Linked DNA regions of Homo sapiens: all the other regions are linked to region 2. Evidence: promoter capture Hi-C in 16 types of primary human blood cells and fetal thymus (Javierre and others, 2016). All regions are on one chromosome and are shown on one strand. The core of a region is centred on a gene start or on the middle of the fragment in contact, and the rest is flanking DNA. Distances in the headings are between cores, read along the strand shown. Region 1 overlaps CTNNA1 (catenin alpha 1). Region 2 holds the start of SNHG4 (small nucleolar RNA host gene 4). Region 3 has its middle 13 kb from the start of CTNNA1.

Evidence for each region. The method cuts DNA at HindIII sites, captures the fragments that hold promoters and counts their contacts. A CHiCAGO score of 5 or more calls a contact.
Region 1: a contact is called between a fragment that was not itself captured here and the fragment with the promoter of SNHG4 in region 2, in 1 of 17 cell types (M1 macrophages). The highest score is 5.6, in M1 macrophages.
Region 3: a contact is called between a fragment that was not itself captured here and the fragment with the promoter of SNHG4 in region 2, in 1 of 17 cell types (erythroblasts). The highest score is 5.1, in erythroblasts.

Annotation. Positions count from the first base shown.
Region 1 is chr5:138,758,547-138,762,941 of GRCh38, forward strand. The region is part of intron 1 of CTNNA1 (catenin alpha 1); the gene reads left to right. Among named protein-coding and RNA genes, the nearest start is that of CTNNA1-AS1, 6.8 kb to the left of the region's middle. The HindIII fragment of the contact is 3,571 bases long and covers 1,302-4,395 here.
Region 2 is chr5:139,271,251-139,276,222 of GRCh38, forward strand. It overlaps SNHG4 (small nucleolar RNA host gene 4), which reads left to right and starts at 2,851. Exons shown (of 7, transcript NR_182757.1): 1 at 2,851-2,911; 2 at 3,114-3,364; 3 at 4,871-4,900. It overlaps LOC124901081 (a long non-coding RNA gene), which reads right to left. Exons shown (of 4, transcript XR_007058956.1): 4 at 1,817-2,404. It overlaps SNORA74D (small nucleolar RNA, H/ACA box 74D), which reads left to right and starts at 4,930; the gene lies at 4,930-4,972. It also overlaps a transcript of MATR3 not described here. RefSeq lists an enhancer at 2,205-2,554 and a silencer at 2,845-2,924. The HindIII fragment of the contact is 4,492 bases long and covers 778-4,972 here.
Region 3 is chr5:138,738,159-138,743,068 of GRCh38, forward strand. No RefSeq gene overlaps it. Among named protein-coding and RNA genes, the nearest start is that of CTNNA1, 13 kb to the right of the region's middle. RefSeq lists a silencer at 819-958 and an enhancer at 4,315-4,614. The HindIII fragment of the contact is 4,072 bases long and covers 463-4,534 here.

The sequences.
Region 1 (4,395 bases), core at 1,837-4,336, 510 kb before region 2:
TTGTATTTTTAGTAGAGATGGCATTTCACCATGTTGGCCAGGATAGTCTTGATCTCTTGACCTCGTGATCTGCCCACCTCGGCCTCCCAAGGTGCTGGGATTACAGGTGTGAGCCACCACACCCGGCTGATATTTTTATTTTTAAAATACATTATTTTCTTGATTTTTCCCATACCTTCCTTTAGTTTTTTGAACATCTGTAAGACAGTTGTTTTAATGTCTTTGTCTAGTAGGTCTTCCATCTGGTCTTTCTCTGGGACAGTTTTTGTTTTTTTTTTGAGATGGAGTTTTGCTCTCGTTGCCCGGACTGGAGTGCAATGGCGTGATCTTGGCTCACTGCACTGCCTCCTGGCTTTAAGCGATTCTCCTGCCTCAGCCTCTTGAGTAGCTGGGATTACAGGCATGCGCCACCACACCTGGCTAATTTTGTATTTTAAGTAGAGACAGGGATTCTCCATGTTGGTCAGGCTGGTCTTGAACTCCTGACCTCAGGTGATCAGCCAGCCTTGGCTTCCCAAAGTACTGGGATTACAGGCATGAGCCACCGTGCCCAGCAACTGGGACAGTTTTTATTGGTTAATTTTTTTTTTCTTTTAATGGGTCATACTTTCCTGTATCTTTGTATGACCTGGGACTTTTTAATTTTTTTTTGAAAACTGGACATTTGAATCTAATGATGTGCTAACTCTGAAAATTGGACTCTTCTCATTCCCAGGGTTTGCTGGATTTTTTTGTTTATTTGTTACAGTTTGTTTTTATGCTGAGGATCAGCCTGAGATACAAACTTAAGGACTTCTCAGGTCTTTTTTGAGCCTGCACCTTTCCCTGGGCGCATGCACCATGGTAACTTTTTTCCTTATCTCCCCCGCACCCTCATGATTGCTTTTGAATATCCTAGTCTTTAAAGTCTAGCTCCTAAAGAGGAAAAAGAGAAAAATGAAGGAAGTAGGGAGGTGGGGGCCCTTGGCCCATTAAATTTCCTGGAAGTCTACTTCAGCTGGAGGGGGAGGACTTGCAGTCATGGAGGGGGTGCAATAATGGCTATCCTTCTCAGTGTCTGCCTATCCCTGATTATAAGCAGCAATCAGCAATTAGAATACGGATCCCTAATATTTGGAGGACAGGGTCCTTATTACCCATCCTGGTTCCCAAAAGCTGCTTGCAAGCTGTTTCAGGAATGCATTGTAGGTTGTCTGCCCGTGGCTGGGGGCTAGGGAATGGGGTAGCTGCTGCTCAGCTAAGGGCTGAAATTGACTGAAATTAACCCAATTTACTGTCCCAGTCTTTCCTTGGAAGTTGCAAGCTTTCTTCAACAGTCCCCAGAATTACATCTGACTAATTATGCCAGTGTAATTGTCTAGGTGGGGAGACTGATCTTGGTGCTTCCTACTCTGCTGTTTTAGAATCTGGAATCCTCTCCCAGAATTTCTTTCCTTTTTTTTTTTTTTTTTTTTTTTTTTTTTATGAGATGGAGTTTCACTCTTGTCGCCCAGGCTGGAGTGCAATGGCGCGATCTTGGCTCACCACAACCTCCGCCTCCCGGGTTCAAGCGATTCTCCTGCCTCAGCCTCCTGAGTAGCTGGGATACAGGCATGCGCCACCATGCCTGGCTAATTTTGTTATTTTTAGTAGAGACGGGGTTTCTCCATGTTGGTCAGGCTGGTCTTGAACTCCTGACCTCAGGTGATCCACCCGCCTCGGCCTACCAAAGTGCTGGGATTGCAGGAGTGAGCCACCGTGCTCAGCCGGATTTCTTTCCTTTTAAAGGCTGAATAATGTTCCATTTATTGTATGTATATGCCATATTTTGTTTATCCATTCATACTTTTTTTTTTGGAGGGGACAGAGTCTCTGTTGTCCAGGCTGGAGTGCAGTGGTGCGATCTTGGCTCACCACAACCTCTGCCTCCCAAGCTCAAAACGATTCTCCTGCCTCAGCCTCCTGAGTAGCTGGGATTACAGGTGTGCGCCACTACCACCCGGCTAATTTCTTTATTTTTAGTAGAAACGGGGTTTCACCATATTGGCCAGGCTGGTCTCTAACTCCTGACCTCAAATGATTCACCTGCCTCAGCCTCGAAAACTGCTGGGATTACAGGCGTGAGCCACCACGTCTGACCTATCCATTCATATGTTGATGGACGTTTGGATTATTTCCAAGGTATGCTACTTTTTTATAGCTCTTAAAATTTTTCCAAATTCCTCTCCAGAAATGTACTTTATCATCACCTGTGGTACATCAGGGTATTTTCCACTTTAGACATTCTTGATCTATTGTCTGAGTACTTGAAGTGGTGTGACTGTAGGCTGACTGTTGAATGAAGCTGAAAGGGGGGTTTTAATAGCAGGTCACAAACTTGGATAGAAGAGGAGATGTCTCTCGGGCTGGTTGGATATATAATAAGTTCTGGAAGGCCACATGCTGGTGATGATGTCATCCAGAAAGGGTTTGGTACTGAATTTCTGTTCAGGAACGTTCCTTGTCAGGGATGTTAGGGATCTGCCTTGTCAACTGTAGTCCTTCGTCAGCCTCTTCAGAAGTTGATGCCCACTTAGCTCTTGAAGCAGGTGTTCTAAGTAAATAATATTTTGTACTCTTATATTCTGTGGATTAGTTGTAGGTACATGCTGTTGTGAAAATAAATTCATTTGACTTCTCTGTATCTTGATTGTGGAGGTGATCACACAACTGTTATTTATTTTTTTTGAGACAGAGTCTCACCCTGTCGCCCAGTCTGGAGTGCAGTGGCATGATCTCGGCTCACTGCAACCTCCACTTCCTGAGTTCAAATGATTCTCCTGCCTCAGCTTCCTGAGTAGCTGGGATTTGCAAGCATGTGTCACCACGACCTGTTTAATTTTTGTACTTTTAGTAGAGACGGGGTTTCACCATTTTGGCCAGGCTGGTTTTGAACTCCTGACCTCAAATGATCCGTCCGCCTCCTAAAGTGCTGGGATTGCGGGCTTTAGCCACTCACCTGGCCCACACAGCTGTTTTTAGATTGGTATACGAGAGAGTGAATTTTATTGTGCATAAAAGGTGGAAAAATGAACAGGTAAAAAAATTTACTCAAAAAAATTTTGGGGGTGAGTTTGGCCTTCTATATGGAGATAATAAATAAGTAGTGAAAAACATGAACCCAATTATTCTTTCTACCTTCTCTGCCCAAATCATTTTTTTCTCAAGTGACCAAAACCACACACTTTGAGGTCTTTTTGTTGTTGTTGATACAGGGTCTCACTCAGTCATCCAGGCTGGAGTGCAGTGGTGCAATCACACCTCACTGCAGCCTTGACCTCCCGGGTTGAAAGTGATCCCCTCACCGCAGCCTCCTATGGAGCTGGGACTACAGGCGCCTGCCACAATGCCTGGCTAATTTTTGTGTTTTCTGTAGAGACAGAGTTTCACCGTGTTTCCCAGGCTGGTCTCAAACTCCTGAGCTCAAGTGATCCACCTGCCTTGGCCTCCCAAAGAGCTGAGATTACAGGCGTGACCCACTGCGCCTGGCCCACTTTGAAGTCCTAAAGAAATTTAGGTTATTATTCTATGCATGTTGGAGGATTTAAGTCTTATTAGCAGCTTCTGTTTTCTGTAAGGAAAAAGTTAAAACACATCTGGAAGAGTCTCATAGAGCAGCACTTTCTGAAACTTGCCTGGGTACCAGTATGCCTGCTTCCAGACCTTGAAGATATTACATGTACTGCTTGGTGATCTGCCCTGTCCCCCACATGTTGTGGGCCTGGATTGAATGGACTGAACAGTGTGGGGAATTAGTCCAGCGTGACTTGCCTTGTCTCATGCTGTTTGCTCACTTGTGAGAGCACTATACTGAATTATCCATTATTGAAAGTTCCAAGTGTGCAAAGAACCACACTTCAAAAATAAAATGTCAACATTGCCCTTTCTCTGTTAGAGCCTTAAATGTTCATTATTTTCTTTAGTTTTTTTTTATAACTATCAAACTTATTTTTCTCCATGTGGAAGTATGCCACAACTCCATTTCTAATGGAGCTTGAAATTAGCATGTATTTCCACTTACTTGTTGATGGGCTGTCATCGATCAACCCCTCTTTTTGATTGGGATTTAATTTGTGGTTTTTTTTTTTTACCAGCTGTAAGTTTGGAGTAATGCATGTAATGTAAATACAGTTCACAGGGCAACTTCGGATGTTCTAAATACTTGTAACATTTGCTCATTTTGAACAATATTGTATGAGTAGTGTGAAGTGATTTTTAAAATGTCTGTCATTTTTTTCATGTTCCCATTTTATTAAAAGGAGGGATGGAACTATATTGTGGAAGCTAATGTAATTTTTGTCTCTAAGAGGTTTTTTTTTCTTTTTAGACTAAAAGGGCTTAACAGAAGAAAAATTTATCTTTCTTAATTGCTAATTT
Region 2 (4,972 bases), core at 1,601-4,100:
TTTTGTTTATCCATTCATCAAGTAATGAACGTTTGGTTTTGGAGGGCTATTATGAATAATGCTGCTGTAAACATTTCTGTATAGGCTTTTGTGTGACGGGCTTTAATTTCTCTTGGGTACATACCTAGGACTGGAATTGCTGAGTCATAAAGTAACTCTGTGTTTAATCATTTGAGGAACTGCCAGACGGTTTTCCAAAGCAGCTGCACCATTTTACATTCCCACCAGCAGTGTATGAGGGTTCCAATTTCTCCACATCCTTGCCAATCCAACTATGCTTTTGAGAAATAACAAGGACAACTGAAGAGCCCCACTCTAATTGGGTAGCTAGTACATAGCAGCAAGAGGAGTGCAGGGATGGAGGAGGGGTCCCTCCTCTACTCTAAGCCCTTAGGATCAGCCAGAGAGAATACAGCTATCTCTAGTACTCTTCCTGACCCCCTAGGCTATGTTAGCTGCCCCCAGACATGTGACCAAGTATACATATAGTACTTGTCATTCTTCTCCTCTAGACTGTAAGCTTTAGGCAGGCAGGAATCTCTATTGTTCTGACTTTATCTGCAGCATCTGAACAGAGTCTGGCACATGATAGATGTTTCGTAAATGTTGATTGACTGAGTGACTGACTAACTGAACAAATGACTAGATATTTCTCTACTGGTGGTTTTTCTCCCTGTTCAGGGAGAAAGAAAAAGAGCAGTCTTAGAGGCAGAAAGCATCAAGGAGGGAAGCAGGAATGAGAGGAGAGATGGAGGATAAAGAGAAAGGCAGGGAAGAAGCTTGGGGACCTGGTGTCACTTGAGGTCAGCTTTAAGTTATGAGGTCAAACTCAGAGCTAATGGACTTCCCCTAGTCCTTTGCTTTCCATCTAGCTGCATCTTTTTTTCTAGAAATGTTCCCTTTTATTTTTTGTTATTATTCTCAATAATTTTGTCTTTGCAAGAAGAAACAAAAAAGTAGAAAAATAGTTGATATTACAGGTAAAAAAAACATAAATCAACCCATCAAAATTAATTCAGAATTTAAAAGGATGGAAGTCAAAAAGGTTGACTATGAAGGATTTTTAAGTTGGAAACAAAATCTTCATCTAGGTTTTTCTCCAAAGGTCATTGAAAGACCTATAGCCCAAAAAGTTGACCACTTGTTCAACAGGACATGAAAATATGGCTTACCTCACAGCCTTATTTATAATGGCTGGCCTTCCACATAAATCCTGCCTTCTACCTGGACTAATCTGAATCCAGTCATCACCAGATTATTGGTCCCTCTCTCCCCAAAGGTCTGCATAGCTCCCTGTCCTCAGTTACTTCTTGTCTCTTCTCTGAAAGCACACATGCACATTCACACACACACATACACACACACACACACACACACACACACACCCTATCTTTCCTTTTCATGAATCTTCAGGGTAGCTCTGCCCTCTCCACTTTGTGTGTTTGGAAGGAAAGAAAGCGAAATATATGAGATGCCAATGCAATTTCTCCTTTAGCAGAGCTCGGTAGGACAATTACCCACCCAATCTGCCTGGTTTTATAGCTCTCATAACCTTCCTTTATGAACACGCTGTGACAGCCGGATGTGGGCATTGATTATGGCAGCAGTCTTCAGCCACATTCCTATTTAACTGCAAAGCAGAGCTCCTGCCTACCAGCCCAGCACTGGTCATGTGACTTTTTAAATTACTGTATTTATGTAAGCCTTTTCCCAACCAGAGCCTATGTCCAACTGCATCAAAACTGGGGAGGATTTGAGCTTGCCACTTCCCCTCCAGTGGCTCTTTGGCCCTACAGCCTAGGGTCTCTTGCTGGAATCAAACTGGGGCTCTGGGCTTTCTTAGGAGAGGTCTGCAAGAGTTGGGGTGCACAAGAAGCATACCTTTTTCATTATGAAAGAGCTGAGGAAATAGACAATGAAACATGTTGGCAGATGCCAAGGGCAGTGGCTTGGTTCCCAGGGGTTCACCTGGCAATGGTGCCAGGTGCAAGAGATCAGCAAAACTTACAGGATTGGTTGTTGTTGTTGGGGGGCGGGTGTCGGAAAGGAATTTGGGGGAATTAGAGAATGGAGTTGGGAATCACTGCTTGTAGGCCTTCCACTCTGGACCCCAGCAGAATCATATGGACTCTAGCCACTGGGAGAGGGAAGTTTTAGTGTTCCAAAGAAATCCTGGTAGCCTTGCAGGCAGTCTGTCCTGACCAAGGACTCTGCCTGACTGTGCCATGGTGCAGGGCAAGTCTAGCAGAGAAAGCCAGTGTTCTTCAGTTACTGCAGCTCGGCGAAGAATCCCACTGCAGGGCACTAGGGAGGCCGGTCCTGCAGAGGTCAGCAGTAGGAGTGACTGGCTTAATCTATTCGAAAACCTCCTGGAAAGATCCCGAAGACCGTGGACCAAGGTGACCTGCGTGGGTGAGCGATCCATTAGCCGAATGACAGCGCTGCCGCAGAAAGCCAGAAAAAGGATATGCGTGGGAAGCGCAAAAGCGTGGGCTGGGCCTGCAGCAACGGAAAGGCGCCACGCTCGTGAGCGGAACCAGCGTTCCGGGGGCGCTCAGTGTGGGCAGGCAGGAAGCCTGGCTCCACTAGGACACACAGATTCTCTCCTGAGCAGCTGCGAACTATGCGCCCCTTCTACCCTTAAGAGATGGGATGGGAGTCCAACAAACCCAGCCATTGCTCAGACCCCAGCCCTTCTCTCCTCTAAGAAGCAGGTTCACCTCTGCCACCGCACTCGCATTTTTTTTTTTTTTTAAAGCCCGGCCTTTCCTAGGCGGGGTCAAGGGCCCCGCCCACCGAAGCCACGCCCAGTAGCCGCCCCGGGGCGGGGTTCCCCTCGGCTCCCGGCTGCCCTTTCCCCTCCGGCCTCTGCCGGTGCTGCTGCGCCCTGCGGAGCTCCGAACACGTGCGCGTGAGTAAGGACCCAGAGGGGAGAGTCCTTGGAGGTTTCCCAGCCTGGGGAAAGAAGCAGTGCAGGGTGGCTTCTGCCGGGGCACGGGACGAAATTGGGGTTCGTCCCCTCGTGATCCCGAGCTTGGAGGGCATCTGAAAGAGACTTGGGCCTCGGAGTCGTCCCCTGTTTTTCTACCATCCCTCTTCCCTCTTCTCCCTAGGGAGTCCCATAGAGCCTGACTCCGAGAGCCTCGATCTCCCAGGGCCAGAGGCAGGGACTTTGGAAGGTTTGTGAGGAACAAATGTCCGGTGGAACTGAGTCAGCCCCTTTAACCCGAGCCTTGAAAGGGGCAGGCTATTTTTAGATCTGTTTTTAGACCCAGCGAACAATGAACCCTCTCTACTCATTTTCCTGTTCCTCTAAATTATTTGGAGGAAGTCAGGAGTGAAATTTGGGGATGGCTGGAAAAAGGTATGATCTTAGCCTTACATAAATTATAATGGTGACTGTGAGGCCGGGCGCGTGGCTCACGCCTGTAATCTCAGCACTTTGGGAGGCCGAGGCGGGCGGATGACGAGGTCAAGAGAAGAAGACCATCCTGGCCAACATGGTGAAACCCCGTCTCTACTAAAAATACAAAACTTAGCTGGGCGTGGTGTCGCACGCCTGAAGTCGGGAGGCTGAGGCAGGAGAATCGCTTGAACCCGGGAGGCAGAGATTGCAGTGAGCCGAGATAGCACCACTGCATTCCAACCTGGTAACAGAGCAAGACTCCGTCTAAAAAAAAATGGTGACTGTGTAGGAATATTTATTATCATTTGTGCAAACATTTTGGTTATTTTTATTTTTTTTAACGGAGTCTTGCTCTGTTGCCCAGGCTGGAGTGCAGTAGGGCGATCTCGGCTCACTGCAACCTCCGCCTCCTGGGTTCATGCCATTCTCCTGCCTCAGCATCCCGAGTAACAGGGACTACAGGTGCCCGCCACCACGCCCGGCTAATTTTTTTTTTTTTTTTTTTTTTTTTTTTGTATTTTTAGTAGAGACGGGGTTTCACCGTGTTAGCCAGTATGGTCTCGATCTCCTGAACTCGTGATCCGCCAGCCTCAGCCTCCCAAAGTGCTGGGATTACAGGCGTGAGCCACCGCGCCCGGCCTAACATTTTCGTTATTGCTTTTAATCAGTAGTTGAGGTCTTGGCACGACTACTGCCTCCAATTCCCCTCACATCCAATACTGCAGTTATTTTTCCAAGTGCTGTTTTTATTGTCCTTCAGGAAGTATTGGAGGCCCTCCTCTATCCAGTGTTCCCACTGTTCACTGCCCGTTTCTCTCACTGGATAACTTTTCCCTTTTTACTCACTCATATTCACCATCTAAGCCTTTTTTGGAATGTAGCTCCTCAGGTGTTTACTGAGTGCCCACACTATACCAGACATTATCCTGAGGATTAGCTTATATTTCACTTAAGCCTCCCAACCACCCTATTTACAGAGGACTATTAGTAATATCCCCATTCAGCTTGGTGTGCTCGCTCACGCCTGTAGTCCCAGCTACTCAGGAGGCTGAGGTAGGAGAATCACTTGAGCCCAGGAAGTGGAGGCTGCAGTGAGCCATGATTGTGCCACTGCACTCCAGCCTGGGTGGCAGAGAAAGACCCTGTAATATAATACCTCCATTCTACAAATGAGACTGAGGTATAGAGAGGTTTCTCGCCCAGTATCATTTGGCTAGACACTGGTTAGGGGATAGAGCCAGGCTCCCTGATATTTGTTTAATCGACTCTTTTGCTACTATTGAACTGCTGTGGTGTATAAGTAACAAGAGATGAAAACAAAGCTAAACAAGGATAAGCTATTGGTTTTATTGTCTGCTATTGTTTCTGTGGCTTAGGCCTAAGTTACCGTGTTTTGAGGGGAGGGACTCTGAGCTGCACACGTGTTCACTGTTGGCTGACTAACCTGGAGTTGTTTCATTGCAGAGAGGCTGGCTGTGGCAGATGCAACTGCAGGTGAGTGCAACCCCTTCAGCTCTCTTGGCTCCAGCTGTAGGCAGCTGCCTAGGTTGTCTTGTACCTAGGCAA
Region 3 (4,910 bases), core at 1,249-3,748, 530 kb before region 2:
AATGTATTAATTTAATTTGGTTTATATTACCATGAGACAATTCTTATTTTGATAGCACATTTCCTACCCCTATAAAAATCTAAAAATGCCACACAAAAAAAGAATTTTTACAATGGTGAATACAAAGAGCCAGGTTTCCAAAATAAAGCCCACTGATACTTTAAAGAGAAGAAGAAAAACACATACCTCCTCCTCCAACCCTCTCTCCTTTAAAACTATTTCTTTTCAGATATAATTTTGCTTGGTTGTCACAGTCTTTAACGTTTCCCCCCTAGGTTCTTTTTCTCCTTTGTTATCAACAAAAATATGAGCATGAAAGGGGCGGGAAGTGTTTGTTTTTATGTACACATCTTTGATCATATCAGAAAGGGAAGAATCATGAACACCCACTGCTGACTGATTTTAAGAACTAAATCTTGATTCTAGTTTCTACAGGGAAGATGAATAACATGAATAAAGAGAAGCTTACACATCTTTCATAAGTGTCAAGGGCCTAAGTTTGGTTCTTTTTATTTAAAATTTAACTCACTGGGTAAAGCCAATGGCATCCTCTGTTAGAAGAGGCCTGAAAGGGATGCAAGTGAAGCCCTCGTCCTGGGACCCCCTAACTCCCCAAACAGCCCCACCTGTCAGACCGCTTGAAGCTGTGCAAAAAGACAAGACGTATATAGCATAAAAACGAGGCATTTAAATCACCTCCATTATGGTATCGTCTTGACAGGAAAACTATTTTGAATGTGGCTTTTCAAGAAAGATTTTTAAAAACCCATTGACATTTCAGAGGCTAAGTGGGAGTGGTTAAGAGCATGGTTCTGGGCTGGGCGCAGTGACTCACACCTGTAATCCCAGCTCTTTGAAAGGCTGAGGTGGGTGGATCACAAGGTCAGAAGTTCAAGACCAGCCTGGCCAATGTGGTGAAACCCTGTCTATACTAAAATACAAAAATTAGCTGGGTGTGGTGGCAGGTGCCTGTAATCCCAGCTACTCGGGAGGCTGAGGCAGGAGAATGGCGTGAACCCGGGAGGCAGAGGTTGCAGTGAGCTGAGATCGCGCTCCAGCCTGGGTGACAGAGCAAGACTTCATCTCGAAAAAACAACAACAACTAAAAAAGAGGGTGGTTCTGGATTCTGGCAGATCTGGGCCCCAGCACTGCCACATAATCTCAGCATGACCTAAGTCTCTGTTTTCTTATTTATAGAATGAGGAATACAACATTAACTACTGTAGGATTGTTGAGAGGCCTGGATGAAATATGAAGCACTTTGCCTGGAGCAGTGGCTCTTGCCTGTAATCCCAGCACTTTGGGAGGCCGAGGTGGGCGGATCACGAGGTCAGGAGATCGAGACCATCCTGGCCAACATGGTGAAACCCTATCCCTACTAAAATACAAAAAAAAAATTAGCCAAGTGTGGTGGCGTGAGCCTGTAGTCCCAGCTACTCAGGAGGCCGAGGCAGGGGAATTGCTTGAACCTGGGAGGCGGAGGTTGCAGTGAGCCGAGATCGCGCCACTGCACTCCAGCCTGGTGACAGAGCAAGACTCTGTCTCAAAAAAAATAAAATAAAAAATAAAGAAATATGAAGCATTTAGCACAGAGCCTGGCATACATCAAAGACTTAGTAAATATGAACTATTATTATTTTTACTCATCGAGTGTGTTAATTATTGTATGAGCAAATGAATTAATAAGTTTTAGGTATACATGACTTTGTTTTCTGCTCAGGCTTATATTAGGTATCAGTGATTCTCAACTCCGGCTGCACATTAGAATCACCCAGGGAGATTTTTTAAAATGCTAAGTTCCTACTGAAGAACAATTGAATCTGAGTCCTGGGGGTGGTGCCTGAGTATCATATTTTTTAAAAGCTCTCCAGGTGATTCTTGTGTGCTGCCAGAGTTGAGAATTACTGGGCTCTACAGAAATGAGGAAATCCTCTGATGTTAACTAAACCAACAGACAAAACTAGGGTGGGCAGGCCTCCCCTGCTTTTCTCCCACTCATCTGAAAATAAACTGAAAGGCAACCAGGGCCATCAGGCATTGGCTAACCCTGATGTGGCCCACACTTTGGTTTTACCTTTTGTTTTTACTGACTCTTGTCTAAATCTAACTCCTTTTGCTGGCTTTCCTCAGGCTAAACCAAGAGTCCCTTTAACTTTTTCTATGGAACTTAATTGGCGGAGGGGGTGCTCACCACTTCGTGGCCACGAGTAAAGATTTTCCAATCTTCATTACAAAGCTGCCAAGTCAGCTCTTGTCTTCATCATTCCGACATCTTTACTCATTTTAGTTCTACCTTTCTTTTTTTGTTTTGTTTTTTTTTGTTTTTTGTGATGGGGTCCCCTCTATTGCCCAGGCTGGGGGAGTGCAGTGGCGCCATCCTGGCTCACTACAACCTCCGCCTCCCAGGTTCAAGTGATTTCTGCCTCAGCCTCCTGAGTAGCTAGGACTACAGACGTGCGCCACCACTCCCAGCTAATTTTTGTTTGTTTGTTTGTTTAGTAGAGACAGGCTTTCACCATGTTAGCCAGGGTGGTCTGGAACTCCCGCCCTCAAGTGGTCTGCCTGCTTCCACCTCCCAAAGTGCTGGGATTACAGGCATGAACCATCTTACCCGGCCAGCCGGCCTGCCTGCCTGCCTGCCTTCCTTCCTTCCTTCCTTCCTTCTTCCCTCCCTTCCTCTTCCTCTCTCTCTCTCTCTCTCTCTCTCTCTCTCTCTCTCTCTCTCTCTCTCTCTTTCTTTCTTTCTTTCTTTCTGACAGAGTCTTGGTCTGTTACCCAGGCTGGAGTGCAGTGACGGGGTTTCACCTTGTTAGCCAGGATGGTCTCAGTCTCCTGACCTCGTGATCCACCCGCCTCAGCCTCCCAAACTGCTGGGATTACAGACTTGTGGAGGCCAGGCACTGTGGCTCACGCCTGTAGTCCCAGAACTTTGGGAGGTGGAGGAGGGCAGATCACTTGAGGTTGGGAATTTGAGACCAGCCATGGTGACACCATGTCTCTACTAAAAATACAAAAATTAGCTGGGTGTGGTGGCGCGCACCTGTAATCCCAGCAACTCAGGAGCCTGAGGCATGAGCATCGCTTGAACCCTGGAGGTGGAGGTTGCAGTGAGCTGAGATAGCATTACTGCACTCCAGCCTGGGCAACAAACAGAGTGAGACTTTGTCTCAAAAAAAAAAAAAAAGTTGTGGAGTACCTTTCTTAGGGGTTTGGAGTGCCTCAAATGAGACAATATCCAGGAAAGTGCTTTTTAAACTGTGAAGCTATTTACCAGCATGATAATGAAACAATTATGACAGGTAGGTAAATAATAACAAAGTCCTCATGATGTAGAGAATCTCTAAAATGATCTTTGATAGGGTTTTTGTTTTGTTTTTTCCTTAATATTCTTGGCACAGCCTTAAATTTGGTGGGTATGGGCATTATGTTCGGCAACCTAAAGTAAGTTGAAATCTAAAGTTTCAACCCAAATGCCATCAATTGAAATCAGTGACCAAGTCCTTGGCTTTAATGACACTTGATTTTTCTCCTACGTCTATAGCCCATATTCTTTCAGCAAATATTTTTAAAGTGCATTTTATGTTTCAGGCCCTGTGTTAAATTATGGGAGCAAAGAAATCAAAAAATGAGACAAGTTCTTGTCCTTATGGAGCTCCTCCTAATGGAGGAGGCAGAAAATAAACCAGCAGGCAAACAAGACAATTCTAGAGCAGAACAAGTGCTATAAAGAACAAAAATGCAGTGATGTGGTAGAGAGAGACTGGGGTGTTTGAGGTGTGGTCAGGAAAGGCCTCTCTGACCAGATGATATAGAAACTGGCCCTCAGTCGGGCGCGGTGGCTCATGCCTGTAATCCCGCACTTTGGGAGGCTGAGGTGGGCAGATAACGAGGTCAGGAGATCGAGACCATCCTGGCTAACACGGTGAAACCCCATCTCTACTAAAAATAAAAAAAATTAGCCGGGCATGGTGGCAGGTGCCTATAGTCCCAGCTGCTCGGAAGGCTGAGGCAGGAGAATGGCATGAACCCAGGAGGTGGAGCTTGCAGTGAGCTGAGATCACGCCACTGCACTCCAGCCTGGGTGACAGAATGAGACTCCGTCTCAAAAAAAAAAAAAAAAAAAAAAAGGAAAGAAACTGGCCCTCAGGAATGAGAAGGAGCCAGGCTGGTGAAGAGTTAAGGCAAAGAGATTTCCAAGTAGAGAGTACAACAAATGGAAAGATCCTGATGTGGGAAAGGAATTGATGCATTTTAGGCAAAAAGGAGGGCTCTGGTGTTGCAGAGGGCAACACAGTCTCCTGTTTTGGTTTCTCTTTCTCTTAAATGTTGGGTCTGGACCTTCATGCTTTCCTAGCACACATTCTCTAAGTGCAGGTGACTTACACATCTTTCTCTCCACACTGGGTCTTTCCTGAGCTCACGTCTGGATATTTCCCTGTCTATAGAACATTTCCTCATATATGTTTGGTAGGCACTGAAACTAAGCATGACCAAAAATAACTGTCTGCATGACTCTCCACCCACTTCCCCACAAGCTTTACCTCCAGGGCTCTTTCTCTATCTCTCTGGGTAAATGGCACCACTATTTCCTCACTGATCAAATCAGAAACCTGAAGATGATTCTTGACTTCTCCTTTCCCAGAACCTCCATATCCAATCCATCGGCAAGGCCTAGGCTCCTCTGTTCTTCTGCGTAGCTCCCAAATCTATCCACTTCTTTCCATCCCCACGACACTTACATACTATATACTACACTATGTACTCTAAACCATCTAATCTGTTTTAAAGACCCCTCTGCTCTACTCTACTCCCCTCCCCTCCCTTTGTTTAACTACTGGAACATTTGCTGTGTATCCTCACAGACTTAACTACTCATTAATTCAACTGAGTTCCTGTTAACTGCCAGGCA